3 separate regions of the Homo sapiens genome follow, and all the other regions are linked to region 1. Evidence: promoter capture Hi-C in 16 types of primary human blood cells and fetal thymus (Javierre and others, 2016). All regions are on one chromosome and are shown on one strand. Each heading gives the region's core, a stretch centred on a gene start or on the middle of the fragment in contact. The rest is flanking DNA. Distances are from core to core; before and after follow the strand shown. Region 1 holds the start of WIPI2 (WD repeat domain, phosphoinositide interacting 2). Region 2 overlaps RNF216 (ring finger protein 216). Region 3 overlaps RNF216 (ring finger protein 216).

What was found. Contacts are between HindIII fragments. The CHiCAGO score rates a contact against its expected background, and 5 or more counts as called.
Region 2: a fragment that was not itself captured here is called in contact with the fragment with the promoter of WIPI2 in region 1 in 2 of 17 cell types (fetal thymus and erythroblasts); the score reaches 6.4 in fetal thymus.
Region 3: a contact is called between a fragment that was not itself captured here and the fragment with the promoter of WIPI2 in region 1, in 2 of 17 cell types (naive B cells and fetal thymus). The highest score is 5.8, in naive B cells.

What each region holds. Positions count from the first base shown.
Region 1 is chr7:5,188,062-5,193,231 of GRCh38, reverse strand. WIPI2 (WD repeat domain, phosphoinositide interacting 2) reads right to left here and starts at 2,999. Exons shown (of 13, transcript NM_015610.4): 1 at 2,739-2,999; 2 at 61-114. The coding sequence starts at 2,812. RefSeq lists silencers at 2,505-2,554, 2,565-3,214. The HindIII fragment of the contact is 15,802 bases long and covers 1-5,170 here.
Region 2 is chr7:5,718,314-5,723,483 of GRCh38, reverse strand. RNF216 (ring finger protein 216) reads left to right here. Exons shown (of 17, transcript NM_207111.4): 9 at 2,312-2,451. Among named protein-coding and RNA genes, the nearest start is that of MIR6874, 9.0 kb to the right of the region's middle. The HindIII fragment of the contact is 3,138 bases long and covers 462-3,599 here.
Region 3 is chr7:5,702,954-5,708,123 of GRCh38, reverse strand. The region is part of intron 13 of RNF216 (ring finger protein 216); the gene reads left to right. Among named protein-coding and RNA genes, the nearest start is that of MIR6874, 6.4 kb to the left of the region's middle. RefSeq lists an enhancer at 4,975-5,170. The HindIII fragment of the contact is 3,575 bases long and covers 1,266-4,840 here.

The sequences.
Region 1 (5,170 bases), core at 1,750-4,249:
AAAGTCCTCTAACATAAGCCTTCCAAGGTGATACTTTCAGAAACCAGGGTTGGAACTAACCAGACAACAGCGCGACGGCCAAGACCAGCTGCTCTTGATGCCCCTTTCACTTCTCTAGGTAAAAAAACAAAACAAAACAAAAAACAAATGGTAAAAAACAAATAAAACTTATGCACACTTTTAGGATAGGAATCATGAAAAAGTACGACATTGGAAATCATATTACCAGTAAAGAAAGGCAGGACAGTTATAGTTTGGTATGTAACAAATACAAAAAGAATTTAAAAGACAAAAAAAAGGGAAATGACCCTATAACATATATATTCTAGTAAGTGAACTGGCTTCCAAATTTTCTCACTGCATACAGTAAATGTGAGTTCTAGACGGTCATTCTTTCACTTGCTAAAAATTGTGCTCCTCAATAAATTCTGGAGATTAAGAAGGGAGGAAAAGGTATAAGCCATAAAAGCTCTCTCCGGGAACTTCTCTATTTCTTTCAAGTGTAGATTTAAAACAAATTACCGTCATTTTAGCCCAGTCAACTTCTAGTATAATCCTAGCTTACTATTCATTCCAATTTAGGTTTACACTACATCAAGGTCTCTCTGGCAAGTCAAAGTTATGAAATCTCAAAGTAACAGAAATCTCTTGAACTGTAATAACTTCGGGGAGCATGGAGAAGTGGGTAAGTGTGAAAATGTCCAAGTGTGAAAAGGTCCTATTTCAGGCCAGAGTGACACTCTTCTGTGACACAGGGAACATGGCAGTCCAGCTGAAGTAACAGTAAAAGAGAATGCTTTTCTCTATTTGATTTCATTCTGATAGAAATAATTAGTGAAAAACTGAAAGAGTGGCCGACAATGTTTTGGAAACTCTCTAATTTATACAAGGCATAAACCACCCTACTACTACTACCATTTCTTACTGGTCTCAAAATACTGTGGCCTTGGGCTTAAAAACCAAATTAGAATTGGTTTGGGATGTGTCCTTTTCCCTATCTGGATTAACATAGTCTATTCCACTTGAACTGCAACAGGTTGTCCGAATTGTTTGTTGTTCTGGCTTTTGGTCACACAGAACGCTACAGTACTTGGGAGTTTTCATCTTTACACGTTGTTATGCTATTATTTCTAAATTCACTGTCTTCAGAATTCTACTCTGTAAACAGAAAAAAAAACAGCATGGCAGAGCAGAAAGAACATTGGAAGAGAGCTCAGGAGGCGAGATTCCACTCCTGCCCCCGCTCCACTATTAACCAATTCCAAAACCCAGACCAGCTTGGAGCCTTTCGGAAGGATTTCCTCATCTGTAGTTGGATGAGGTGATTTGCCCCTTCCGACTCTCAATACAGTCCCACTGTGCGACTGTCTTCACAGCTTTGGGGAGGTGCTATTGAGTGCCTGCTGTACACCACCCACTGAGTGTTGTCCATTCTACAATTCACTTTTAATTTCCTAAAGAATCTTACCTTCTGCTATGTTAATTCCACTCAGCCAGTAACAACTCAACCAATGACTTAGTAAGATGCCAAATGCCCCACTCCTTCTCTTTCCTCACTTCCTCTTACTCACTTCCAAGATGGCTCTCCTCCCTGCCAACCCCATAACTCACCCTTCTCTCTCCAGAAAGCTCGCTCATCTATTAACCATCCCCACAAGTCCTCCTCCCAGGCAGCATCCAACCCGTATCAGTGGGGACAAACAGCGTTCCGAATGCACGGGCTGGCATTAAGGCCTTCTCTTGCCCTGAGGATGACCCACCCGCTGGAGCTCTGAGACTCCTGGGGCACTGGTCCGTAACGCCTCTCTTGGCTCAGTTTCTCCCTAGCTAGGTCAGATGCCAAGGTTATTGCTAAGTTTGTTACTTGCTGGAGAAGACATCAAAGTTGATGTCCCAAAAAGAACAGGGAGGGCCGCGCACGGTGGCTCACACCTGTAATCCCAGCACTTTGGGAGGCTGAGGTGGGCGGATCACTTGAGGTCAGGAATTTGAGACCAGCCTGACCAACATGGTGAAACCCTGTCTCTACTACAAATACAAAAAAGTTAGCTGGGCACAGTGGCGCGTGCCTGTAGTCTCAGCTACTCGGGAGGCTGAGGCAGGAGAATCGCTTGAACCCAGGAGGCGGAGGTTGCAGTGAGCTGAGATGGCACCACTGCACTCCAGCCTGGGCAACAGAGCAAGACTCTGTCTCAAAACAAAACAAACCCCAAAAAACAAAAACAAACAAAAAAACAGTGAGAAACGAAGAAAAGAAAATCAAGAGAGAGAGAAGGGTCTTAAGACGATGAAAAGACAAGGAGAAGGGCCTGATTCAAAGGAGAGTGAGTGGGAGACGCTGAGCAAGCAGCGGGAAGAGGAGACGAGAGGAGAGGAAGCGACCCACACCCAGCGCTCCACAGGCGGCCAAGACAAGTCAAGCCCCAAAGTTCGGCCCCAACTTTGCGAGAAGTAGTTAAGTCTGAAGCCAGGGGGCCTCCCCGCAAGAGGGTGAAAGCAGCCCCCTCTCCACCACCTCTCCCGCTCCGGGACCGCAGCTCCAGGCCAGCACCCGAGGGTCTCCCTGGAGGGCGCCCCTCCCTGCACGCCCCGGGCCCGCCCCTGGGGACGCCTCTGCGCGCCTTGGCCCGCGGGGAGGCCGAGCCTGCGACGCCGCCGAGCTTGGCAGCGAGGCCCTCCCCCTAGCCCGGGTCCGACCCTGGCCTCACCCCGACTCCGACCCCCGACCCCGGCCTTACGTGTTGTCCTGGTTGAAGTTGGCGAAGAGCAGCTGGCCGGCGCCGGCCTCCCCGCTCTGGCTCGCCAGGTTCATGGCTGGGCGCGCGGCGAGTGGGCCCGGCCGGGGAGGGCGCGCGCGCGAGGGCGGGTCAGGCTGCACTCAGGGTCGGCGCCGGGCCCCGCTCGCCGCCTCGGTCGCCGCCACTCGCCACCCTGGGATCAACCGCCGCCTCATCCCGTCCCCGCTCTTGTTTATGCTCCAGAGCCGGGGCACCCGGTACGCCTGCGCGGCCCCGCCCCCGCGACGCACGGCCTCGAGCGGCGCAGTCGCACTGCGGAGGCCCCGCCCTCTCACCGCCTGCCTGGGCTTGGGTTCCGGTGGATCACGCAGGCGTGGGGACGCGTCGGGGCGCGCTGGGCCTGGCTGAGGGCGAGCGGCGGCCGCTCATGCGCATGGGGCAGAGCTGGCGGGAGTCTGTTTTCTGCGTACCCTCCTCTTAATAACACTCAATGGCCAGGCACGGTGGCCTGTAATCCCAGCATTTTGGGAGGCCAAGGCGGGCGGATCACCTAAGATCAGAAGTTCGAGACCAGCCTGGCCAACATGGTGAAACCCCGTCTCTACTAAAAATACAAGAAAAATTAGCCGGGCTTGGTGGTGTACGCCTGTAATCCCAGCTACTCGGGAGGCTGAGGCAAGATAATCGCTTGAACCCAGGAGGCGGAGATTGCAGTGAGCCGAGATCATGCCACTGCAATCCATCCAGCCTGGGCCATAGAGCGAGACTCTGTCTCAAACAACAACAAAAACAAAAACAAAAACACCCCAATGGGCCCTCCATGTGCCAATCACTGTGCTGAATGCTTCTGCGCATTACCTTATCATTTTATTATTTTGAAAGACAAGGTCTCGCTCTGTTGCCTAGGCTGGAGTGCAGAGGCTCAATCACAGCTCACTGCAGCCTCAAACTCAGGCTCAAGCGATCCTCCCACCTTAGCCTCCCAAGTAGCTGGGACCACAAATGCATGCCACCACACCCTGCTAACTTTTAAGTTTTTTGTAGAGATGGGGTGGGGGCGGGGGGGGTCTTACTCTGTTGCCTAGGCTGGTCTCGCACTCCTGGCCTCAAGTGATGCTCCCACCTCGGCCTCCCAAAGTACTGGGATTACAGATGTGAGCCACTGTGCCCAGCCACATTATCTTATTTGATGCCCATTACAATCCTAAGTAGAGAATAGTATATCTTAATTTTACAGATTTGAAAATCGAGGCTCAGAAATAATTATTAGCCAAGTGCTAGATCTGAGACTGGAAACGTCCTGTTTCTCCAAGGTCCATACTGTCTGGGTTCCTGGGACAGAATCGTCCCTTAAATTTATTCATTCATTCAACAGTATTTAGGACGCACCTCTCATGTGAACTAAATAGGCCTCCTCCTTTCCCTCAGAGAAGTTATAATGGGGAGATATTTAAATATAAATAGAAGGCCAGGTGTGGTGGCTCTTACCTGTAATCCCAGCACTTTGGGAGGCTGAGGCGGGTGGATCACCTGAGGTCGGGAGTTCCAGACCAGCCTGGCTAACATGGTGAAACCCCGTCTCTACTAAAAGTACAAAAGTTAGCTGGGTATGGTGGTGGGCACCTGTAATCTCAGCTACTAGGGAGGCTGAGGTGGGAGAATTGCTTGAGCCCCACAGGTGGAGGTTGCAGTGAGCCGAGATTGCACCTCTGCACTCCAGCCTGGACGGACGACAGAGTGAGACTCCATCTAAAAAGTAAAATAAAATAGGCTGGGCATGGTGACTCACGCCTGTAACCCCAGCACTTTGGGAGGCTGAGGCAGGTGGATCACCTGAGGTCATGAGTTTGAGACTAGCCTGCCCAACATGGTGAAACCCTGTCTCTAGGAAAAATGTAAAATATTAGCCAGTTGTGGTGGCACGGCCCTGTAATCCCAGCTACTCAGGAGACTGAGATGGGAGAATTGCTTGAACCCAGGAGGTGAAGGCTGCAGTGAGCCGAGATCATGCCACTGCACTCCAGCCTGGGCGACACAGTGAGACTCCATCTCAAAAAATAAAATAAATAAATATAATTAGAAACTCGGGGGTACAATGAGCGAATATATATATATATATATATATATATATATTTTTTTTTTTTTTTTTTTTTTTTTTGAGACGGAATTTCACCTTCTTGACCAGGCTGGAGTGCGATGGCGCAATCTCGGCTCACTGCAACGTCCACCTTCCGGGTTCAAGTGATTCTCCTGCCTCAGCCTCCCGAGTAGCTGGGATTACAGGTGTGCACCATCACGCCCAGTTAATTTTTGTATGTTTAGTGGAGACGGGATTTCTCCATGTTGGTCACGCTGGTCTCGAACTTCCGACCTCAGGTAATCTGCCTGCCTCGGCCTCCCAAAGTGCTGGGATTACAGGCATGAGCCACTGT
Region 2 (5,170 bases), core at 781-3,280, 530 kb before region 1:
AGTAGAGACGGGGTTTCACCATGTTAGCCAGGATGGTCTCGATCTCCTGACCTCGTGATCCGCCCGCCTCGGCCTCCCAAAGTGCGAGATTACAGGCTTGAGCCACCGCACCCGGCCAATTGCATTTATTTTTTAAAATAAAGGACTGAAAATAAATCTTATTACTTTAACATGATAAACTACAAAAAGAACTGAGTAAAGACGAAAGAAATAATAGGTGAAAATTTTTTTAATTTGTAGCATTGATAATTACAGTAATTAACATTGAGCACTTAATATGTACCAGTCACTTTTCTAAGTGCTTTAATGGATTAATTCATTTATGTTTCAAATAGCCTTATGAGATGTATGTGCCATTATTATCATTTTATAGAAAAAAAGTGAAGCACAGAGAGGTTAAGTAACTTGGCAGATGTTACACAGCTAGCGAGTAGCCCAGCTGGGAATCTGGCTTCAAAGCTTACTGTCTAACCACGTGCTTTTCTATTCTCATAATACCAAAAACTGATTTTTTTTGTTGCTGTTGTTTTTTTTAATTTTAAGACGGAGTCCACTTCCCAAGCTCAAGCGATTCTCCTGCCTCAGCCTCGCAAGTAGCTGGAATTAATTACAGGTGTGCGCCATCATGCCTGGGGGGTTTCACCATGTTGGACAGGTTGGTCTCGAACTCCTAACCTTAGATGATGTGCCCTCCTTGGCCTCCCAAAGTGCTGGGATTACAGGCGTGAGTCACTGCGCCTGGCCCCAAAAACTGGTTTTCTGAAGAAAAGGTTTGAATTTAAAAAAACATGAGAGGCTGGGCGCGGTGGCTCATGCCTGTAATCCTGGCACTTTGGGAGGCCGAGGCAGGCGGATCACGAGGTCGGGAGATCAAGACCATCCTGGCTAACACAGTGAAACCCCGTCTTTACTAAAAATACAAAAAATTAGCCGGGCATGGTGGCGGGCGCCTGTAGTCCCAGCTACTCGGGAGGCTGAGGCAGGAGAATGGCGTGAACCCCGGGGGGCGGAGCTGACAGTGAGCCGAGATCGCACCACTGCACCCTTGCCTGGGCAACAGAGTGAGACTCTGTCTCAAAAAAAAACAAAACAAACAAACAAACAAAAAAAAAAACATGAGAATGAGCAAGAGAAAAGGAGAATCAAAATAAAATGTATTAGGAACCAGATAGTAAATATTAAAATCAAGAGATTACCAAGAACAGACAAGAGTAAATTGAAAATCTGAATGAGATAAAGTTTTCTAGAAAAACATAAATTGGCCAGGCGTTGTGGCTCACACCTGTAATCCCAGCACTTTGGGAGGCCAAGGCTGGTGGATCATTTAGCCCAGGACTTCAAGACCAGCCTGGACAACATGGCAAAATCCCATCTCTAAAAAAATACAAAAAAATTAGCTGGGTGTGGTGGCATCTGCCTGTATAGTCCCAGCTCCTCAGGAGGCTGAGGCGGGAGGATTGCCTGAGCCCAGGAGTTGAGGCTGCAGTGATCTGTGAATGTGCCACTGCACTCCAGCGTGAGCAGCAGAGCAAGGCTCTGTCTCCAAAAAGAAAATCATAAATTGCCAAATCAGTGAAACAAGTACAAAACCTAAACAGATCATTTACGTGTCTAATATTTGTTATTCTGCTCTCTTTTATTCTCATGTTATAATATATTGTGGTGAATCTAGGTACTGTTCCTTCAGCCCCTTGTATATTTGAATGCTTTGAAAATAAAAATGGTTGAAAATCATACAGCACATTTGCACCCACCAGAATGGCTAAAATTAAAAACCGATGATAGGTGTTGGTAAGGACATGGAGAGACTGGAACTCACATGCATTGCTGATGGAGGAAGGGTGTAAACTGGTACAACCACTTTGGAAAACTGGCATTATTTTCTGAAGCTGGAAGTAAGCCTATCCCATGATCTAGCAATTCGCAGGTAAATTGCGGACATACATTCACCAACAAATGGCTATAAGCAGCGCTATTCAGATTAACCCAAAACAGCAAACCCAAATGTCCTCAGTAGTGAAATAGATAATAAATTGTGGTATATTCACATAGTACACTAGTGACAGGATAGGAGATGCCTTCCAATTGGAGCATAAACAGAGGGAAAGAATCAGAAAGGTCAAAAAATGGATGGTAGGTTGGCTAATGGTAAGAAGCCCAGTCTTCCCAAATGGTAGAATGTGATAGAAAAGTCATGAAACGTACCATCAGAGAGAAGGTGGAGGATGAGGCCGGGAAGAATGGACATGGCTGGCCCAGGTTCCTAACACATAGTTGTCTGCATGCTTTTGCATTGTCGTATATCTTCTAGGTGACATAAAAATAGAAAAGAGGATGTTCTTTCTTGAAAATAAGCGACGACATTGTAGGTCCTATGACCGACGTGCTCTCCTTCCAGCTGTGCAACAAGAGCAGGAGTTCTATGAGCAGAAAATCAAAGAGATGGCAGAGGTAGGAAGATGTGCTCTGGTCTTGGGGTGTGTTTCTGGGATTCTGGTTTGCTCTTAGGGTTTAGTTAGTACAAAACTGTCTTTTAAGATTTCCCTTTTCTTCAGACTGTTAAATTTGGATATATGCAAAGTTTTTAAAAGAAAAAACCTGGATTTTGTCATAATACTTATGTTTGTGGTTTCATAAATCAGATTCATGTTAGAAAATTTTAATTGGAGCTTAGTGTATCTATTTTACCTCCTCCCTCAGCCTCGGTTCCATTTCGCTCTTTAATTTTTCTAAATATAGTATCAAATGTGCAAGTCAGCTGGAATGTATATATTGGTTGTTTAATAAGTATCTTCTAAACCAGTGGCTCTCAAAGTGTGACCCAGAGATCCCTGGGTTTCCCAAGACTCTCTTGGGGGTCTGCGAGGTCAAACCTCTTATAACTATGCTAAGACATTACAGTGACCCTTGAACAACATGAAAGTTAGGAGTGCTTCCCCCTGTGCAGCTGAAAGTCAGCATATAATGTTTGACTGCCCCAAAACTTCACTGTGAACAGCCTACCGTTGACAGGAAGCCTTACCCATAATAGTCGATGAGCACGTTTGGTATGTTTTGTGTATTACATGCTGTATTCTTAGAATAAGGTAAGCTAGAGAAAACGTTATTAAGAAAATGAGAAGGAAAATATATTTCATATTCATTAAATGGAAGTGTGGATCAGCATGAGAAGGTCTTTATCTTCATGGTCTTCACGTTGAGTAGGCTGAGGAGGAGGGGTGTGTTGGTTTTGCTGTCTCAGGGTGGCAGAAGCAGAAGAAAATCAGCACATAAGTGGGTCCCCACAGTTCACATCTCTGTTGATCAAGCTCAGCTATATTTGCTTTTTCACCATATTGAGTTTGTACCAGCAGAACAAAAGCAGTGGTGCCTTGGCATGAATCAGGCCAGTGTCGTAGAGCCATCGTCACAATCATTGTTTTCTTCACCACCATGCACTTACATTTTTAAGACACACCAGTTTCACCTGAAAATGTCTTTGATAAAGCAGTAAAAATTACTTTACCAAGTTTTGACCGTTGGAAACATCTTTTCAATATTCTGTGTAATAAAATGAAGTCTTCATAAAGTGCTTCTGCCACATCCCAGGATATGAAGCTTGTCTTATATCCAGGTATGAGGAAAGCACTTATGCAACTGAGCCACAAAGCAGCTGCATTGGCCACTTTTTACTTGGAAAAAAGTGACAGAAAAACTATGATTATTCAAAATAGGTATTTGGCAGGCATTTTCTCAAAAATGAATGAAGTGATTATTTTTGACCAAAATTCTAGATTTTAAGCAGAAATTAGAATTTATTGTTTTGATCCATCTGTTATAGAATGACATTCATTGATATCACCAATCTTATCAGATAAGTATTTAAAGTATTGGCAAATTGATGAATGTAGTTCATTGTAGTCTTTTATTCTTGGTGATATTCACATTGTCCCATCTCTGACTATTGGCTGCCCCTTCAAGTTAGTCTCTCTTAACCCGACCCCTGTAGTCTCTGACAACATCTTTGCTTTTGGGCACAGCCAAATGACCCCGTTTCAGCTTCTGCTTTCTCAGACCTGGACTCAACAATTTTCCAAAGTACCTTCTTTGCTTTTTTCTTTTCTTTTTTGACAGAGGAGCTCCATGTGTTACTTAGGCTGGAGTGCAGTGATGCAATCATGGCTTACTGCTTCAACCTACCTCCTGGGCTCAAGCAGTCCTTCCATCTCAACCTCCTGAGTAATTGGGACTGCAGGTGTGCACCACCACACCTGGCTAACTTTTTTTGTAGAGCCTGGGTTTCCCCATGCTGTCCAGGCTGGTCTCGAACTTCTGGCCTCAAGCCGTCCTCCCAACTCAGCCGCCCAAATTGTTGGGGTTACAGGCATGCACCACCATGCCCTGCCAACTTTCTTTTCTCTGATGCTAAAAGTCTTGGTTCTTAATAATATTAATAACATTATTCAATATTTAAAATATTTTAAAGTCACTTGAAATAAATCTCGGTGCTTATACCATTAACTTGATAAACAAGTTTATTCGTTTCTGGCCAGGCACAGTGGCTTATGCATGTAATCCCAGCACTTTGGGAGGCCAAGGCAGGCAATCACTTGAGGCCAGGAGTTCAAGACTAAAAAAACTTAAGTTTGGCCGGGTGGGATGGCTCATGCCTGTAATCCCAGCATGATTACATGCTTTGGAAGGCCGAGGTGGGCAGATCACCTGAGATCAGGAGTTACAGACCAGCCTGACCAACATGGCAAAACTCTGTCTCTACTAAAAATAAATTAGCTGGGCATGGTGGCACACACCTGTAATCCCAGCTACTTGGGAGGATGAGGCACGAGAATTGCTTGAACATGGGAGGTCGAGGTTGGTTGCAGTGAGCCAAAATCATGCCACTGCACTCCAGCCTGGGCAACAAAGCAAGACTCAGTTTCAAAAAAAAAAAAAAGGGTGGGTTATTTCTTTCTGTTTGTTTTGAACTTTTAGAGAATTGGTTTTGTTTTTTTGTCTAAGGTTGTAAAAATTTTAGTTCTGAAATAAAAACTATAAAACAAGGAATATTCAGAAATATCTAGCTTTTGTGCTGTCCCTTTCTCGCATTTTGTTTGTTTGTTTTTTGAGACGGAGTCTCGCTTTGTCACCCAGGCTGGAGTGCAGTGGCAGGATCTCGGCTCACTGCAACGTC
Region 3 (5,170 bases), core at 1,804-4,303, 510 kb before region 1:
TCAAAATCATACCAAGTATCTTTTCCAGCCACAAGGCGATACACTTAGAAATCACAAACAGCAAGAAAATTCACAAAGTATGAGAACTAAACACACTGTCCGGGCATGGTGGCTCCCACCTGTCATCCTGGCACTGTGGGAGGCCGAGGCAAGTGGATCACCTGAATTCTGGAGTTCGAGACCAGCCTGGCCAACATGGCAAAACTCTGTCTCTACTAAAAATACAAAAATTTAGCTGGGTGTGGTTGCGTGCGCCTGTAATCGCAGCTACTTGGGAGGCTGAGGCAGGAGAGAATCGCTTGAACCAGGGAGGTGGAGGTTGCGGTGAGCAGAGATTGTGCCGCTGTACTCCAGCCTGGGCGACAGAGTGAGACTCTGTCACAAAAAAAAAAAAAAAAAAAAAAACCACACACACACACTGAAAAGCTTTTTTTTACTAAGATCAGGAACAAGGCAAGGATATCACTGTCACCACTTCCATGCTATATAACACTGGAAGCCCTAGCTAGAGCTATTTGGCAGGAAAAAGCAAAAGCATCTATATCCGTGCAAGTTCACAGATAACATGATCTTATACATAGAAAAATCTGCAATTTCCACAAAAAAACTTGTTAGAATTAATATATTCAGTAAAGGTGCAGGATACAAAATTAGCACATAAAAATCAGTTGCGTTCCTGTACACTAACAAACACTCCAAAAAGAGAAATTAAGAAAATCTAATTTATAATACATCAAAAAAGTTGGAATACTTAGGAACAACTTAACCAAGGAGTGGGTAAAGACTTATACACTGAAAACTATAAAAAACTGCTGAAATAATTAAAGAAGACATAAATAAATGGAAAGACATCCCTAAAATGCATATGGAACCACAAAGGATCCCAAATATCCTAGACAGTCTTAAGAAAGAAGAACAAAGCTGGAAGCCTCACACTTCCTGACTTCAAAACTTATTACAAAGCTACAGTAATTTAAACAGGCAGACATGTAGACCAATGGAACATAATACAGTGCTCAGAAATAAATCCACACATTTATGATCAGCTGATCTTCAACAAGGGTGCAAAGAACACCCACCGGGGGAAAAGGTAGTCTCTGATTAATGGTGCTCTGTAAACTGAATATCCACATGCAAAAGAATGAACTTAGACGCTGATACCATATCTCATATCATAACACAAAAATCAACTCTTTAAATGGATTAAAGACTTAAGTGTAAGACCTGAAACTATAAAAACTAGAAGAAAACGTAGGTGGAAAGCTTCATGACATCAGTCTTGGCAATGATTTCCTGGGTATAATACCAAAAACAAGGTGACAAAAGCAAAAAACAGGCAAGTGACTACTAAGATGCTTTCAGCAAAGGAAACCATCAACAGAGTGAAAAGGCAGCCGGTGGAAAGGAATTGAAATCCTTTGGGAAAGGATCTCAGCATGTTCCTGTGTTCATTGCAGCATTATTCACAGTAGCCACAAGATGGAAACCACTTACTGACATGTTCGTCAACAGATGAATGGTTAAAATTTGGTATATTATGCAGCCTTTGAAAAGAAGGAACTCCTGGCACATACTAACAACACAGATAAACCACCTTGAGGGACATTGTGTTCAGTGCAATTAGCCAGTCATAGAAGGACAGATACTGCACGATTCCACTTAAATGCAGGATCTAAAGTAGTCAGACTCATAGAAACACAAAGTAGAACCCTGGGTGCCAGAGGCTGGGAGAAGGCAAAGTGGGGAGTCACTGTGCAGTGGGAAGTTTCAGTCATGCCAGATTAAGTTGTTTAGAGATCAGCTGTACAACATTTTGCTAACAGACCCTGTACACTTAAAAATGTGTTAATTGGGTAGTTTTTGTATTGTGTGTTTTCACCACAATTTTTTTTTTTTTTTTTTTTGAGATGGAGTGTCGCTGTGTTGCTCAGGCTGGAGTGCAGTGGTGCAATCTCAGCTCACTGCAACCTCCACCTTCCGGGTGCAAGCGATTCTCCTGCCTCAGCCTCCTGAATAGCTGGGACTACAGGCACATGCCACCATGCCCGGCTAATTTTTTGCATTTTTAGTAGAGACGGGGTTTCACCATGTTAGCCAGGATGATCTTGATCTCCTGACCTCGTAATCCTCCACCTGCTTCGGCCTCCCAGAGTGGTGTTTTGTTTTGTTTTGTTTTGTTTTGTTTTGTTTTGTTTTGTTTTGTTTTAGTTTTTGTTGAGATGGAGTTTCGCTCTTCTTGCCCAGGCTGGAGTGCAATGGTATGATCTTGGCTCACCATAACCTCCGCCTCCCAGGTTCAAGCAATTCTCCTGCCCCAGCCTCCCGAGTAGCTGTGATTACCTGCATGTGCCACCACGCCCGGCTAATGTTGTATTTTTGTAGAGGCGGGGTTTCTCCATGTTGGTCCGTCTGGTCTCGAACTCCTGACCTCAGGTGATCTGCCTGCCTTGGCCTCCCAAAGTGCTGGGATTACAGGGTGAGCCACCGTGCCCAGCCTACCGCAGTTTTTTTTAAAGGGCATATGGTTCATTTTTTCCCTCTGCCAAGAGGGATGTGCAGCATGAGTGAGAACAAAGTCTGTTTTGAACTACTGAGGTTTGAGTTTGTTCCAGCAGCATAACCTAGCACATCCTGACTGATAAGGATCATAAGGACCATAACTGCCCTTGGAGTTGGAGAACAGGAGCAGATTTGAGAGGTAGAGGATTAGAAGGTGATATGTTGCATGTGAAGGTGGGGAGAAAGCCAGAGGTCTCACAGGCGTGTCTGGTTTGGACCACTATGTAGTTGATGATGCTGTTTACAAAACTGGAAATGGAATCCAAAAGATTCAGGAGAGATTACTTTTGTTTTGGACATGTTGAGTTTTTAGGGGAGACATCCAGTGTGTACGTGTTTTTACAATGCCTGGCACATAGTAGGTGCTCCATAAATCAGTGACCCTAGATCAGTGATCCGGGTCAGTAACACAGGGAGAGATCTAGGCTGGAAAAAGATTTTGGAGTCTGAAATGAGCAGCAAAAGGAGGAAAGAGGAGGAGAGGGGTAAGGTGCCCATCAGGGAGATTATTATTAGCTTAGAAATGCTGGGCCATGCTAAGTTTAAAGTATGTTTTTTCATTTATTCACATCTTTTTATGCCCCTCAGCAACGTTTTGCAGTGGAGAGAATGTGTGTTATGATTACATGATGGATTACAGTATGTTTCAGAACTTGACTTTCACCTATGGATAACAGCATTCACATTTTAGTTTCTAATGTTAGGGTAAGGATTGTAGGTGTTTGGCCCATCATGGAAAATAAAGTGAAAAATGTTATATGGGGACCTGAGGCAGTGACGGCCTGGTGGAGCTGGCTCAGTGACCACCAGAGGAATGAGAGAAGTCCCCACCTTGTCCTTTGGATGAGAAAGGAGAGTTTATGCCTAATCTTCTGTCCTTATTTGTGGGCTGTGGAACGAGTTGCCACTAGGTGGCACAGATGCTCCATGAGGAAAGGGTTTTCTTCCTCTTGGGTGTTTGAAAAGTATGTGTCAGCAAAACACTGTTTTGTAAGCAGAATTGACACAGTTCTTTTGGGCTCAGTACCAAAGCAAATCGCTACGTGCATTTAGACTTTATCTAAGAAGTCCATGTTATTAGCGCATACGCTTTTACCTTTCTCAGTTGTGCAAATTCTCCTTATGCCATTCTTTGTAGCAAGATGGCTAAAGCAGTCGCTAATCCTTGAGGATTCCTGATATTTAAGACATGAGCCACAAGCTAATTTTGACCCGTGTGAGACTAAGGGCACCTGCTTTCTCATTGCAGTGTCTTTGCCAGTAATATAAATTCCAGTTGGCTTTTCAGGAACTTGTCGCTCTGAAATGAGGCGTTTATATTAATACGGCATTAATATAAACGTATTAATATAAGACGGCCTCTGGAGGAGGACTTGAATGGCTGGAATCAGTCCTCTGGAATCCCTGAAGAATAAGACACTGTATCTTTGATGAAATGGAGAGAGTCTTTGTTTCATTGATATGATGGAATGCTTTTGTCAAGGCTCTCAGCTCCCTTGTGTGTTCTCAGATAAAGAATTCATTAGTTTGTTTTCAGTGTGCTGCTTTTAGGAATGAATTGGGTGTGTTTGGTGTGAGACTGAAGAGTGTTACATAAAAGGAGATTTGAAGGTGATGCTTCTGGAATATGTATTCTTAGGGTCAGAAGTTTCACTGTTGAGTCTTTTCTGCCTTGCCACAGCCATAACTTTGCTTTATAAACTCAGAGCTGTGTAAGTCAAGTTTTCCAGAAACTTAGGGCCACAAGGTGGAGGTTTAGGCACACTCATGAAGCAAGCGCTAACGACGAGAGACCATCAGGTGGTGAGAGTTTAATCAGAGTAACTGAAGAACATCTGGTGTAGTCTTTTCGTGGAAACTGCAAATGTGTGTGTGGTTGTGTAACCACCCATCTTTTCCCAATGTCACTTGTATTTATTTATCTTTTCTCACCTGCCAGCTTTCTTCCCTGCTTGTTTTTCTGCCCTTTCTAGGTTCCCATCCTATTCTTTGTAGCATTTGCTGTTTTTAACTTTACAGCCGTGAAGTACAACCAAAATTCACATCTGCAGTGAACCAGTTTGTTGGTTAAAAAACAGGCATCTGCAGCCTCCTACAGTAGCTGCATGGCTGCGTGAAGAGAATGTAAATGAGTGTGGACCAGCTATCAATGCCAGGGCAGCTCCAGCTGTGATGGCGGGTGGTTGGCACTTATTAACAGCACTCTAATTTGGGGCCCAGCCAGTCAGCTGACTCCTGTGCTGAGCACGGCCTTCACATTTATCTAGAGATGAATGAAGCTTGGGCCACTTGTTCCTACTATCAGGGAAGACCTTTATTCAGGAAGTAGCGTTGACAAGAACCAAATAGCTGGGTAACAAAAAGATTTTTAAGCCCACAAATGAGGACTCATTTACTGGAGTGGAAGTCCATGCTGCATGATGTGAGTCAAATATGAAGGAGGGTGGTGTGAGAATTTCTCATCATGGAATGTGACCTGCCCTTGCTCCTCCAAGGTGAGTCACTTTCTTCAGAGCCCAGCATGGGTCCCTCTGAAGAGCTTCAGGTTCAGGCCGCAGAAGGACGCTCCCTTACAGGTATATCATGTAGGGTGCCTGGCAGAGCTCTCAGC